Linked DNA regions of Homo sapiens: region 2 is linked to region 1. The links are contacts of gene promoters, found by promoter capture Hi-C in blood cells and fetal thymus (Javierre and others, 2016). All regions are on one chromosome and are shown on one strand. The core of a region is centred on a gene start or on the middle of the fragment in contact, and the rest is flanking DNA. Distances in the headings are between cores, read along the strand shown.

Region 1 (6,929 bases), core at 1,418-3,917:
ACTGGTTGAGGCCTGAGCAAAATAGTTAGACCTCCTCTCTAAAGAACAAAACCTTTAGCTTGATGAGGTGGCCAGTGCCTGCAGTCCTAGGTACTCGGGAGGCTGAGGCAGGAGAGTTGCTTGGGCCCAGGAGTTTGAGGCACAGTAAGCTATGATTGTAGCACTGCGCTCCAGCCTCGATGACTGAGTGAGGCTCTGTTGAAAGAGAGAAGGAGGAAAGAAAAAGAAAGAAAGAAAGAAAGAGAGAAAGAAGAAAGAAAGAAAGAAAGAGAAAGAAAGAAGAAAGAAAGAAAAAGAAAGAAAGAAAGAAAGAAAGAAAGAAAGAAAGAAAGAAAGAAAGAAAGAAAGAAAGAAAGAAAGAAAAAGGAGTAAGGGGGAGGGAGGGAGAGAGGAAGGAAGGAAAGAAAGAAGGAAGGAAGGAAGGAAGGAAGGCAAGCAAGAAAGGTACATTGCCTTGGCTAAAATCATAAAGGAGTTCAGTCCAATGAAACTATCTCTTTAGTCTCATGAAGGCTTCTGACCCCCATTTTATGAAATTTTAAATTTAAATATCAACCATGTTTTCCTTCATTGTTTTCCAGTGTATTATATTGCGAAACTAGATTCTCAATTGACTGAGGTGTTTAATCCACTTGCAAATAGATTGTAAATGAATACAAAATAAGTCACTGAGAAGCATTTAACATAATTTAAAAATCAACAAGAAATTTGTCCAAATATTTAATAACATATTAATTTAAACGAGGGTTAGCAAGCATGTTACTACTTTTTTGAAACAAAAATCAGTTCTCCCATTTACTAGCTTCATAGCCACTGTTGACAATCCTATTATTTATTTTTCAGCCTTCCCTTTGAAAGATGCTTAGCAAAAATCAACTAAGTAACAACCAAAGATCTCATTCTCTTTAACATCTTCCAGGATCACAAATTTCAATTATTCTCTGCCTGAGTTATCACAATTCAAACTGGAGAATGAAGAGTAAACACAAGCAAAAGAAGATAAAATCTATTAAAAGATCGAGAGACACCAGACACAAATGGGTTAAAAGAAGAAGAAGAATTAAAGGTTATACTGTTTTGATTACACACATAGAGGCTAGGAAGAAGAAAATGAATTGAGATTACCTGTTAGAAATAGGCGGTTTCTGGTTTCTGGGAGCTGTCCAATGTACTGAGTGAACCATCATAACCACAACTTACCCCCTTAATAGGGACTGACGTCCTGGGCAGTTCTCTTTTGAACCGGGATGTTTCTACATTCATCTTTTTAGGCTATTTCTTCCAATCTACCTTTAAAATTATCTTCTAATCTGTCACTTTGACACAATGGGTCTTTTAAATAAATCTTTACACAGTACTGAATAATTAAGTAAATATAGTTATTGGCAAACAAAGAAAAAGAACCTTTTTGTTAAAATATTTGGGATACTCGAGATAATATAAAATGAGTAATCTCTTATTTTTCTTATGCCAAATTTAAAATCTCTTTCTTTTCTCAAAAATAACGATCTAACGATAGCCAAAAACTCCCTTAAATATATTTCAATAAATCATTGTTTCTGCACTTAAGTCTTACTGTAGGACAATACAAATCAATGAGGAAAATACGCCAGATGGAAGTGTTAGGTTTTTTTCTTTGTTCGGGAACAAATACTCGATCCGCAATTTAAAAGTCCGAAGACTCCTCAGCAGAGGGTGAGCTGATTGACTCTTTGGCTTATCAAGGGCAAATCGCATTTCTGAAAAGAGCTTGAAGTGGTTTTGTTTGTGAGGAGAGTTTGCTTTGTCCCCCACACTGAAAAGTATACAGCAAAGCCCGAGCATAGAAAATATCCTGAGCTTAAATTTCTCATTTTATTGCCATCATAACTTTTCCTCTTGGAATAAAATCCTCTATTTTATATGAGTAGGAGGTAAAGGTAGGGAAAGGAAAGTCAAGTATCTCAATTGTTACGCTGATTGCATCCAAACAGACTTTAGAAGTCAGGGTTTGTAACGTGGCAGGAGAGCTGTTTGCGATGCCCTGGAAAGAAAAGAAAGCCGGTTCCAACAGCGACTCTGGGGAATGCACTCTCGGTCCCCCTGCCATGCTTACTTAAGCTAATTGAAGGTCTTGCCTTTCAGCAGCCGCTGCACTGGGATACCAGACAAACAGCTCCCCTTGATGCCAGGCAGGCAGGGCCCCTCTTCAGGACATCATTAAAAGCACATGCACTTGCTCCACATCCATTGGCAGATGGTGGCAAGATTCAAGACTCCTACCCTGAAGTCAAGGAGAAGCCATCGCGGTGGAAAACATCCTCGCTTTGAAAATCCAACACGAAATTAAAGAACTACACGAGATAAGGAGCCTGGAGAACATTAGTTGGCTGCAGGGGTGAAGACAGACACAAAAAGCACAGCAGGTAAGAGCTGGGGGTTGTTGCCAACAAGGAACTGTCCCGGGTGGCGCAGAGAAAAGGATCTCAGAACTGGAGCCCTGTCCCTTTGAGTCTTCCATGCGTGCTCAAGCTTGTCATCTTCCATAAGCTTCGAGAGAAGGGACGTTGTCAGAGCATTCCTTATCGGTGCGACTAATCCTGTTATCAGCTTGGTTATAAATATTTAATGTTCCCTGGCCTTTCGGTGATGGTGCCCCATCAGATTCAAGGCTGTTAAGAATCCCCACCAGCAACCTCGCCCCTCCCTGCGGAAAACCGATGAGAGGCAGGGCCAAGCCGAAGCGATGGCGGCCTATCCGGAGAGCTGCGTGGACACTACGGTGCTGGACTTCGTCGCAGACCTGTCCCTGGCCTCCCCGAGACGCCCTCTCCTCTGCGACTTCGCACCCGGGGTCTCCTTGGGGGACCCAGCCCTTGCGCTCCGAGAGGGAAGACCCAGGAGGATGGCGCGGTTTGAAGAGGGGGACCCAGAAGAAGAGGAGTGCGAAGTGGACCAGGGGGACGGAGAAGAGGAGGAGGAAGAGGAGCGCGGAAGAGGTGTCTCCCTATTAGGCCGCCCCAAGAGGAAAAGGGTGATCACCTACGCCCAGCGCCAGGCCGCCAACATCCGCGAAAGGAAGCGGATGTTCAACCTCAACGAGGCCTTTGACCAGCTGCGGAGGAAGGTGCCCACGTTTGCTTACGAGAAAAGGCTGTCCCGGATCGAGACCCTCCGCCTGGCCATCGTCTATATCTCCTTCATGACCGAGCTCTTGGAGAGCTGTGAGAAGAAGGAAAGCGGCTGAGCCTGGTGTGGAGAGTCTGCCCTTCCTCGTCTGGTAGTGCTGGGGTGTGTCAGGACCGGGCACTGGGTGAGGCTAAAGGGCCGGGAGGGAGGCCCCAAGACAGAACGTCTGGTCTTCTGGAGGTCGGGGTCGAGATTGTAAGATCCCCACATGCGCTGAGCAGAGTGGCTGCTGTAGAGTTCATATCTACGCGACCGCCCTAAGTGAAGTCGGGGTCAGGGGCGAGCGGGGAAGTCAGAGAGCGTGAGGCTGAGTCGGGGCCGTTCAGGCTGCTCCTAAGAGCTTCCGTGGGCTGGGTGGGTGGGAAGTGAACCCTCCTCGCAAATGGCAGACTTTGGAGCTTCTATAAAATCTAACCTCTCTTCTTTACATTTTTTTTTTCATAGAGATAATAAAGTAGAAATTCTTACGTTTTTAAAAAGCCTGAAGGGTCGGTGGTACGCCATCCCCAGCAGGCGCTCCAGCGGGCGCCTGCGTGGAGGGTCTGAAGCAGACGCCGCAAGGGTGCGGGGGTGCGAGCTTTTCTGCTAGCCAGAGGGTTCTGCCTGGTCCTCCGAGGCTTGTCCAGGAACTGAGGAAAGGAAAAATGGAAGGCAGAGCAGTCGAGAGGAACTGCTGACAAAGTGCGACCTCTGAGAAGGGACACCCTTCCTGTCTTCCATTCCCTCTCCCTCCCGTCCCTTCCTCTCTCCCGCGCGCAAGCCCTCTCTCTTCCTTTCTCCCTCCCCTTCGCCACCTAGTTGATCCCAGACGGACCACAGCTCCTTGTCCCAGGGCCACAGTGGTGTTCATTCAGTGCCTTAGCCAGAGTGCAAATCTACGCTTTGCATCTAAAGTGCAGCATCAGCTTCCGTGTTCCAGTGCCTTCTTCAGGCCCCAGGCCAGAGTAAGGGGCGAGTGCACTCGGGTCACTCCTGGGCCGCAGGGGGCCTTGGGCGCCCTGCAGCTTCGCCACCAGCCACCGCTACCAACTGTCCCCGGCCAGGGGTTGGGGTATGAAGGGGCCTGGATCTTTCTAGGAGCAGGGCCGCCTGAGCGCGCTCACTTTTACATTTTTAGCTGTAGGTAGGAAAGATAGCTTTCACTCTAATGGCTTCTAGAGACTACCAGGGGAGACAAAAAGTCCAAAGAGGAGATGCCTTCTGACGCCTTGCAAAACGCCTGCCATGCAGATGAGGTTGAAGCGGGTCCATGCTGAGAGGCCGCCTCTAGTTTGGACCCGTGCCATTCCAGGATTCTTCCTTCTAGGTGACGTGCTAGTACCAGAACTGGGGTCTTTCAGAAAGGAGTGGGTAACTGAGGCGAGGAACCCGATTGAATAATGCCAACCTAAACATAAATTCAGTAATCCTAAAGGATAATCCCCAGTGATTATTCCAACACTTTATTTCGCCCCTCATTGCACACAGAAATAGGCGGGAGCCTGTGCGAACACACAATTCTCTTAATCATGCTTTCGGAAATAGAATTCATTTCATTAATAAGTAACATATACTCATCCTAGAAATTTTGGAAAAAAAAATTTCAAAAAAGAGAAAATTCGAATCACTCCACGTTACCATACTGTTAGCATTTTCATCTATTTCTTTCCAGTCTTTTTTTCCCTGTGCAGTTATAAATTCAATATATTTTACTAATTCGAGATACTTTGGGATACTGATATTTTTCCACTTGGCATTATAGAAGGTGCAATGTTTTCCCTTAACTTTAATATTATTCAAATGTGATTTTGATTACCATATCTTATTGTCTTATCCATGTATCACACCACCACCAGCCCTTTCCAGATAGATAGCTATTTCCTTTTTAAAAAATAAATGATGCTGCTAAGAGCATTCTTGTAAATGCCTTCTCTGTCTATTATTACTTCCTAACATTTGATACCTAGAAGTGAAATTTCTGGATTCAAGTTTGTGGATATAAATGGCCAGATTCCCTTCTTGGTGGGTTCTGCCAGTTCACTCTCCCACCCTCTAGCATTGCAGGGATTTGCCTGTTTCCCAGCCCCTTCATTAGTACTTCGAATATTTAAAACTTTTCTTAGTTTTCCTTTTCATAGGACCTGGATTAGTTCTGAAACGAGCCCCCACTCCCAAGATGTTTTTTTACTTTTACTGTGTCTTTCCACCAAGAATTTTTTCAACTGCACCGTAAGAACATCAGGATAAACAGGTAAACAAAAAAAAAATACATAAACAGCTAACACCAAACAACAACAAAGCCCCATAGAGTGTTGTTTTTTCTTATTCTTCCACCAATTCAATTTCTCCTGGAAATTAAACATCATTCTTTTTTAAAAAATCATCTGAAAGTGTTGAATAAATAAAAAGAAAAAAAAGTAATTCCAATCTAGGAATTCTTAATATTTTGCTGAAAGAACAAGTTTTGAAAACCAGAAATAAAGCAAAATTGTGTAGACCAGGGACCATCAACATTCCTAAGTCGTGAGGAGTCAGCACAGCCACCCGTTTTCGTTAGTCTTCTCCATCATATTCTAATACATTTTGTTCCTAGAAAGCAAATAATATTCCTCCAGTGAATACCTCTTCATCATAGTAAATGATACCTAAAAAACTTCTAAATTAAAAGTTATTTTCTTATTATCAACAGAGGAATTATCCACCCTTCTTAAAAAAAAAAACTTTAATCGTTTATAAATGCTTTGCTATTTGTAAGTTTACATGTTTAGGAACTGCCTCAAATGTAGTCTTTTAAGATATTTTCATAATAATTTTACTCAGAGTAATTTGAACCCAGGTAAGGATCAGAGTCACATAGAAAGGGATTGACATTCCTTTCATCAAATGCCAATAGAGGTAAGACAAAATGATCCACGTCCTGAACTTAAATCGAGTATACCTCCATATTTTGACCCTCAACTTTTCTAAGCATTATTTTAATTTTAGTTTTCCTCATGTTAGATGCATAAAATCAGTGCACCTTTAACACAAGTTTTTTGTTTGTTTGTTTGTTTGAGATGGAGTCTCGCTCTGTCGCCAGGCTGGAGTGCAGTGGTGCGATCTCAGCTCACTGCAACCTCCAACTCCCTGGTTCAAGCGATTCTCCTGCCTCAGACTCCCAAGTAGCTGGGATTACAGGCACGCGCAACCACACCCAGCTAATTTTTAATACAAGGGTTTTTGAATGTAACACCCACTACATTAAAATAGTTTTACTGTTTATTATCTCCTAAACTACCATTGATAGAAATATGAGTAGATATTGCCTTTTCAGTAACTTCAGCCAGGCTTTTTTTAAGACCTAATGGTGTCAGTTACTTCTGGAAAATTAAAATAATTTGTTTTTGAAATCTTAAAGTCATTTGAACATTTAGAATCTAAATACCATCTGAGATGTTGCTTGGAGGTGATTTATTTATATACTCTCTACTGATGGAACACTGCCTTTTGGTCTCAAACTAAGTTCCCCATAGCTATCAGATTACTATTAGTATTCAGACAAGTAAGCCATAAAAAGATCTAAATGAAATCATATTTGAAAGACATAATTAGGCTTTCTGAGGAATCTAAAAATAATCAGAAGCCCTTACCATCAACAGGGAGTCATTTAGGCTGATCATCTTTTACAGTTAGTTGCCCAGCGTTAAAGCAGATTTTGGCAAAATTAAGTGCTGGAAACTGAACCAAATATTCTGCTAGTATGCATAATTCCTACATGCAGACATATGATACAATTAAGACCC
Region 2 (6,929 bases), core at 1,890-4,389, 530 kb before region 1:
CATTTGAACAAGGCTGAATTTAGTGATTACTCAGCTGCATATGGGCACTGTGAAGATACACTTGTATGTAGCATGTTCACTATTTGAGGAGAATATTTAGACTTATACCTACCCTGTTCTAGATATGAATGGATCTTATTTATTCAGTAATTTGAAACTATAACATCTTTCCTACCTCTTGTTTTTTCTTTTCCCTATTTTATAACACAGTGGCCAAGTTAAATGGATGATTTTGATGAGAGAAGAAGGTTTGTATTACATTTTATTTTTAAACTTTAAAAACTGTGCATTGGCCAGGTGCAGTGGTGCACGCCTGTAATCCCAGCACTTTGGGAGGCCGAGGCAGGTGGATCACGTGAGGTCAGGAGTTCGAGACCAGCCTGGCCAACATGGTGAAACCCTATCTCTACTAAAAATACAAAAATTAGCCAGGCATGCTGGTGGGCGCCTCTAAACCCAGCTACACAGGAGGCTTAGGCAGGAGAATCACTTGAACTCGGGAGGTGGAGGTTTCAGTGAGCCGAGATTGTGCTATTGCCCTCCAGCCTGGGCAACAAGAGCAAAATCCCGTCTCAAACAAACCAACTAAAAACAAAAAAAAAACTGTGCATTAAATGCCTACTATTTGCAGGTGTTCTGTTGAGTGCCAAGAAGGCTATAAGTATGATTAACGGATGGTCCTTACATTGTCTCCTCCTCTACAAAGAAACTCTTGAACTAAAGAAAATCTTTTGAGCAATGGTCCGTTTTGCTCACCACAATGGCCAAATTACGCAGATTGGTTCACTTTCCTTCATAGTAGAGACCCATCTTTGGACAGCCGATTATGTCACCTTTCTCACAAAATGGGCAAGATTTTTTAGAGTAAATCTGGAAGTCACTATGACGTTACTTTCATAAAATATTTAATACATTTCTCAAAGAACCTAAGGAACTCTACCTTAGTAAGATTTAGTTTAGTCTTTTAAACACCAAACCCAAAAAACACATAAAACAGGTATGTATATGGGACGGGGAGCAGATGAACAATGGTTTTTATTATGAATTAGTCAGCAATTGAGTTAGTAAATATTATAAAAATACAGTAGTCCCCATGAGGGATATATTCCAAAGCTCCCAGTGAATGCCTGAAATTGTGGATACTGCCAAACCCTATATATATATATATATATATATATATACATATACTATGTATTTTCCTATACATACATGCCTATGATAAAGTTCAATTTGTAATAAGAGTACTGTAATAAGAGTTATATAAATATGGTGTCTCCCTCAAAATATCTTATTGTACTGCACTTCCTTCTAGTTTTTTGTTTGTTTTTGTTTGTTTCCTTGTTTAAGAGAGAGGGTCTTGCTCTATTACCCAGGCTGGAGTGCAGGGATGTGATCATAGCTCAAAGCAGCCTTGAACTCCTGGGCTCAAGCGATCCTCCAGCGTTGGCTTTCCAAATTGCTGGAATTAGAAGCATGAGCCACTGCACATGGCCTACCCTTCTTGGGATCAAGAAAAGACAGAACAGAACAGTGTGAGATTTCATCAAGCTACTAAAAATGGTGCACAATTTAAAACTTATGAGGTATTTATTACTGAAATTTTCCATACAATGTTTTCAGACTGGTTGACCACAAGTAACTGAAATCAGATAAAGCAAAACCACAGATAAAAGGGGACTACTATATTTTATGCTTTCTAAAGTGAAGGATAAATGAGTTATTTCGAAAGAGGAAACAGTGTTTATAGTTGTATTCTTCCTCACTCTATTTTAACGCTGCAGGACAGCTGGTCTGTTACATTATTATATTTCAGTTCCAATTATTTGTCATTCAAATTCTAAATGTGTGATATAATGAATGTGGAAGAGAGAAGTATTATGGCCAATGTTTTTTGGCAATTGTGCTCATGGTTTTTCTAATGCAAACTATGTCCAATCCTAAAAGTCAATAAGAAAAATATCTTTAAAACTTTCAAGTACTTATTATAGTTAAAAGTTAAAGCCATGCTATTATGGTAAAAAGTATAATAGTATATATAAAACTATGGGCCTAGCTGACAAATTGAAGATTATTTTGAGAAGAGAAATAATTAAGGACCAGACAGATTTAAGCAAGATTAAAGTAATGTAATAACTCAATAATAGGACTTCATGACTGTTAAATGGATGGCAAAGTAACCTCAGAATAACTTGAAGATGTACAAATTAAGGCAGAGTAAAATTGATTATAATAGTGTAAAATTGAGCAAAAAATGTACATAGATCATTACATAAAACACAAGGATAAATGTAATTGGATTAAAGTTATCTCATAGAAGAAGTGATTTTATTTGTAATAAGTCAACTGCATTTTTATCCTTTTTAAAATCTGAAATAAACTTAATAAGACATCATATAATTTTTTCTAGAGGTAACCAGGTAACAAGTTCTAATAGCTCAAGTTTTCTATGAATAGAATGAGACTAAAGAAAGGAAAGTATCCTGGGCCTTCTGAATGTTACTAATGAGTGGAAATAAGAGAACATTAATGAGGAACTTTAATTTCTCATATCCCCATTTAGAAAAATGTATTCATTATTTTTTAATTTTTTGCTCCTGTAGAGAATTAAAATAAACATTCCAATTTTACAATCCACACAGGGAGTAGTAATAATATCTTTCTCATGGTTCTTGTCTCCTAACTCCTCTTACTTTTTCATATCTTCTTTTTTAAGTTCAGGGGTATGAGTGCAGGTTTGTTACATGGGTGAACTTGTGTCTTGGAGGTCTGTTGTACAGATTATTTTGTCACCCAGGTATTAAGCCTGGTACCCATTAGTTATTCTTCCTGATCCTCCCCCTCCTTCCACCCTTCACCCACTGACAGGCCCCAGTGTGTGTTGTTTCCCCTCTATGTGTCTATGTGTTGTCATCATTTAGCTCACACTTATAAGTGAGAGCATGTGGTGTTTGGTTTTCTGTTCCTGCATTAGTTTGCTAAGGATAATGGTCTGCAGCTCCATCCATGTCACTGCAAAGGCCATGATGTCATTCTTTTTTATGGCTGCATAGTAGTCCATGGTGCATATGTATCACATTTTCTTTATTCTATCATTGATGGGCATTTAGGTTGATTCCATGTCTTTGCTATTATGAATAGTGCTGCAATGAACATACACGTCTGTGTGTATTTATAATAGAATTTTTTATATCCCTTTGGGTATATATCCATTAATGGGATTGCTGGGTCAAGTGGTGTTTCTGTAGGTCTTTAAGGAATAGCCACACTGTCTTCCACAATGGTTGAAATAATTTATGATACTGTCTCTTTTTTAATCAAATTAACTTTTCCACATCATTCCCATGTACATGTACCATTTTACCTTCTCTTCTTCTTGCTTGCATCTTTTGTATATTATATAATATAAACAGTCATTCCTATAGCAGAATAATCAAAAGAACTTTAAAAATCAACAAATATAAATGCTAATATGCTTGATGAGAGCTTCCTACCCTTTCTGATTTTTATTTGGAAACTCAGTTCTTCATTTGTTTGATGCTATTTCGTTTCAATTAGTGTTTCTAACTATAAATCACAGATCAACTGATTTATTTTGTTTATTAATATTTCATTGCTAAGTTCTTAATATATTTGGAAATTCAGTGCAATATTTTTTTCTCAGAAAATAATTATCCCTTCCACCTTATGTCTATCTAATTCCATTTTATCCCTAGAGTCATCACACAGATGAAGGAGCTCTTGAAGTACACTCCAAAGTCTTTCACAATATACATTAACTAAAATGCTATCACATGAAAAATAATTACATTTAATACTTTTTAGAGGTGCTTCTGGTTATTGTCAACCAGTGAATTGGCAAAGGAAACTAGAAAGTAATATACCATACAACCAATAGTGAGTTTCTCATTTTTTTCCCCCAGTATCTTCTGACCTAAACTTAAAAGCAGTCAAGAAATGTACACTGGGTGCAGACAGAAAGAGTTCCAAAGGAACCTATTTCTAGGCCATCCGATGAGCAGGAAAGGAGGCCCCTGTGAGTCAACGAGAGTGGGACAATTTTCTTCTTTTTTGTGTGTGTGTTACTTTTGGCGCCACCTTCCAAGTAATCCTGTAGCAGCAATGGCAGCAACAGCATCAGTGAGTAGTCAACAGCCTAAAACTTAAGAGAGTGGCGTTTTATCGTTGACCAGAGAATCTGATCTCAAGAGGGGAGAATGTCCAATAATTTATTTTTCTCTCTTTACCCTCTCACCACTTGGCTCTGGATGCAGACACATTTTCAGGAATGCATGACACAGTAGGAAACTAAAGCCACAGCTTTTTATGAAGAGGATCAGTGAGAAGGGCCTCTGGGAGTTAGAAACCACTGGGAGAGTATAGAGAGGAGAGAGCTCAAGAAAGCAATACTCTAAAGTTTTGTATTTGCTTTTGTCCTTGCCCTGTAACTATTTTCAAATTTGACTCTAAACAGTGTGTAGAAGGATTCAAGAACTGAACTGTGAATTTAGACTGCCATCCACGTCTCATAGTAGCTATCGTGTTGCATTTGAAATTGAACTAACATTGAAACTACAGCCCACAGAAAGCAGGTATAAACTTGCTGCTTTAATCTCACAAGCCAATTTCATGCCCAAACAAGCAAGTAAATAAATAAATGAGTATTTTTCCATAGGACTAAAATAAAACCCAGAGTCATATAATATTCAAAAGACCCAAGATATAATCCAAAATTGTTCAATATATAAGAACCAGGAAAATCTCAGCATGTTGCTAGGTAAAATACAATAAATACCAACACATAGCAATTGAAATTATTAGACTAGGATTGTAAAATAGCTATTATAGCCATGTTCCAAAAAGTAAGTACATTGAACACACCTGAAATGAATGGAAAGCTGGAAAGTCTCAGCAGAGAAAGATATAGAAAGAAACCAAATGGACATTTTGGAACTGAAAATTACAAGTGAAAACAATTTCACTGTATGCTTGACAGCAGAATGAAGATGACAGAGGAAATCAGTACACTTAAAGACAGATTAATATAAATGATCTAATCTGAACAAGAGGAAAAAGATTTTAAAATATTGAAAGATAAATAAATACCTTCTCAGATTGAGAAAAGCTGAGGGAATTTGTTAATAGCAGACTTACTCTTAAAGAAATACTAAAAGATCTTTAGATGAAAGGGAATTGCTACTAGAGAGAAAGAATTTTAAGAATAAAGGGAGAACAATGAAAATGGCAAACATCGGGGTAAATACGATAGATAATATTTCTCCTCTAAAGTTCTATAAAATATATATGATGGTGCTTCAGTGTATATATGTGCAACACTTATGATACCTGCAAGACAAATGAAGCAGAGTAAAGGGACCTATCTATATGATAAGGTTTCTACATTCCCTTTAAATTAAAATATTAATTCAGAGTAGATGATGAAAAGTTAACCATGTCTATTTTAATTCCTAGAGCAACCACTATGAAAAACTATTCGAAGAGATATAGCTGAAGTGGAATATTAAAAATTATTCAAATAATTCAAAATAAGGCAGAAGCTAGGAAACAGAGAAACAAAGAATAAAGAGAACAAATGGTAAAGAAATAATAAGATGACAGAGCTACTGTTACATTCTAAATTTCATCCTAGGAGTCCTATGACCTCTTAAATAATTTTTAAAGAAATTTGCATATTTAAGCCTCTCTTTTTGCTGTAAAGTTCTGTGAGTTTTGACAAATACACAGTATTTTGTATCCATCATTATGGTGTCATAAAAATAGTGACATTGCTCAAAAAAATGCATGGTGCTTCACTTACTTAACTCTTCCTCTTGTTCTAAGCCTCTCTTAGCCACTAATATTTTTGTCATCTCTACAGTTTTGACAGTTCATGAATGGCAAATAACCAAATCATACAATATATATAGCCTTTCAGAATGCTTTCTTTTATTTGGCAATATGCATTTAAAATGAATACATGTATTTTCATGGCTTGATAGCTCATTCCTTTTTATTGCTGAGTACTATTCCACTGAATGGAAGTTTATTTCACCTTTTGAAGGAGATTTGGCTCCTTTCAGTTTGGCAATTATGAATAAAGCTCCTAACAACATTTCAAATCAATTGACTAAATACCTAGAAGAAAACTGCTAAATTGCATAATAAGGCTACATTTTACTTTGTAAGAAACTGTCAAGCTGTCTTCCAAATTTGTTGTACCATTTTACATTCACATCAGCAATGGACTTTCTGTTGCTCTGCAACCTTATCAGTAATTAGTATTGTCAGGGTTTTTATTTTATTTTATTTTAGACATTTTAATGTGTGCAGTCATATCTCATGGTTGTTTTAATTTGTATATCCCTAATGTATATTGAGTATCTTTTCATAAGCTTATTTGCCATCCGTCTATCTCTTTGGAGAGGTGTCTATTTAGATCTTTTGCCCAATTTGTTCATTGAGAGGCTTTTAAAAAAATCTTAACTTGATGGGAATTTTATTAGAATTCCATTAAAGGAAGATTTAACATCTCAGTAATATTACACCTTCAAATTCATTAATATAGAATATCTCTCAATTTACTTATATCTATGATTTCTTCATTCAATGTTTTGCAGTTTCTGCATTCAGATGGTATTCATACTTAGTTAGAATTATATCTACAAGTATTTCATTTCTGGCACTATTGTAAATGTATTGTTTAATTTTAAGTTCCAATGTTCACTGATGGTGTATAGATAAGAAAGTGGCTTTTATATATTCACTTTATAATCTGTGACCTTGCTGTATTAACCTATTGGTTGCAGAAATTATTGCGTAGATTATTTGAAATTTCTGCATAGGCAATCATGTCATTTCCAAATAAAAACAGCTTTTTTCAATATGCATACCTTTTCTTTCTTATTTTAGTGCTCTAAATAGAGCTTCCCTTA

The links. Contacts are between HindIII fragments. The CHiCAGO score rates a contact against its expected background, and 5 or more counts as called.
Region 2: a fragment that was not itself captured here is called in contact with the fragment with the promoter of FERD3L in region 1 in 1 of 17 cell types (M0 macrophages); the score reaches 5.9 in M0 macrophages.

The regions. Positions count from the first base shown.
Region 1 is chr7:19,141,159-19,148,087 of GRCh38, reverse strand. FERD3L (Fer3 like bHLH transcription factor) reads left to right here and starts at 2,667. Exons shown (of 1, transcript NM_152898.2): 1 at 2,667-3,306. The coding sequence starts at 2,726. The coding sequence ends at 3,226. RefSeq lists enhancers at 1,621-2,269, 2,735-3,934. The HindIII fragment of the contact is 4,985 bases long and covers 2,532-6,929 here.
Region 2 is chr7:19,672,103-19,679,031 of GRCh38, reverse strand. No RefSeq gene overlaps it. Among named protein-coding and RNA genes, the nearest start is that of MIR3146, 30 kb to the left of the region's middle. The HindIII fragment of the contact is 6,504 bases long and covers 1-6,391 here.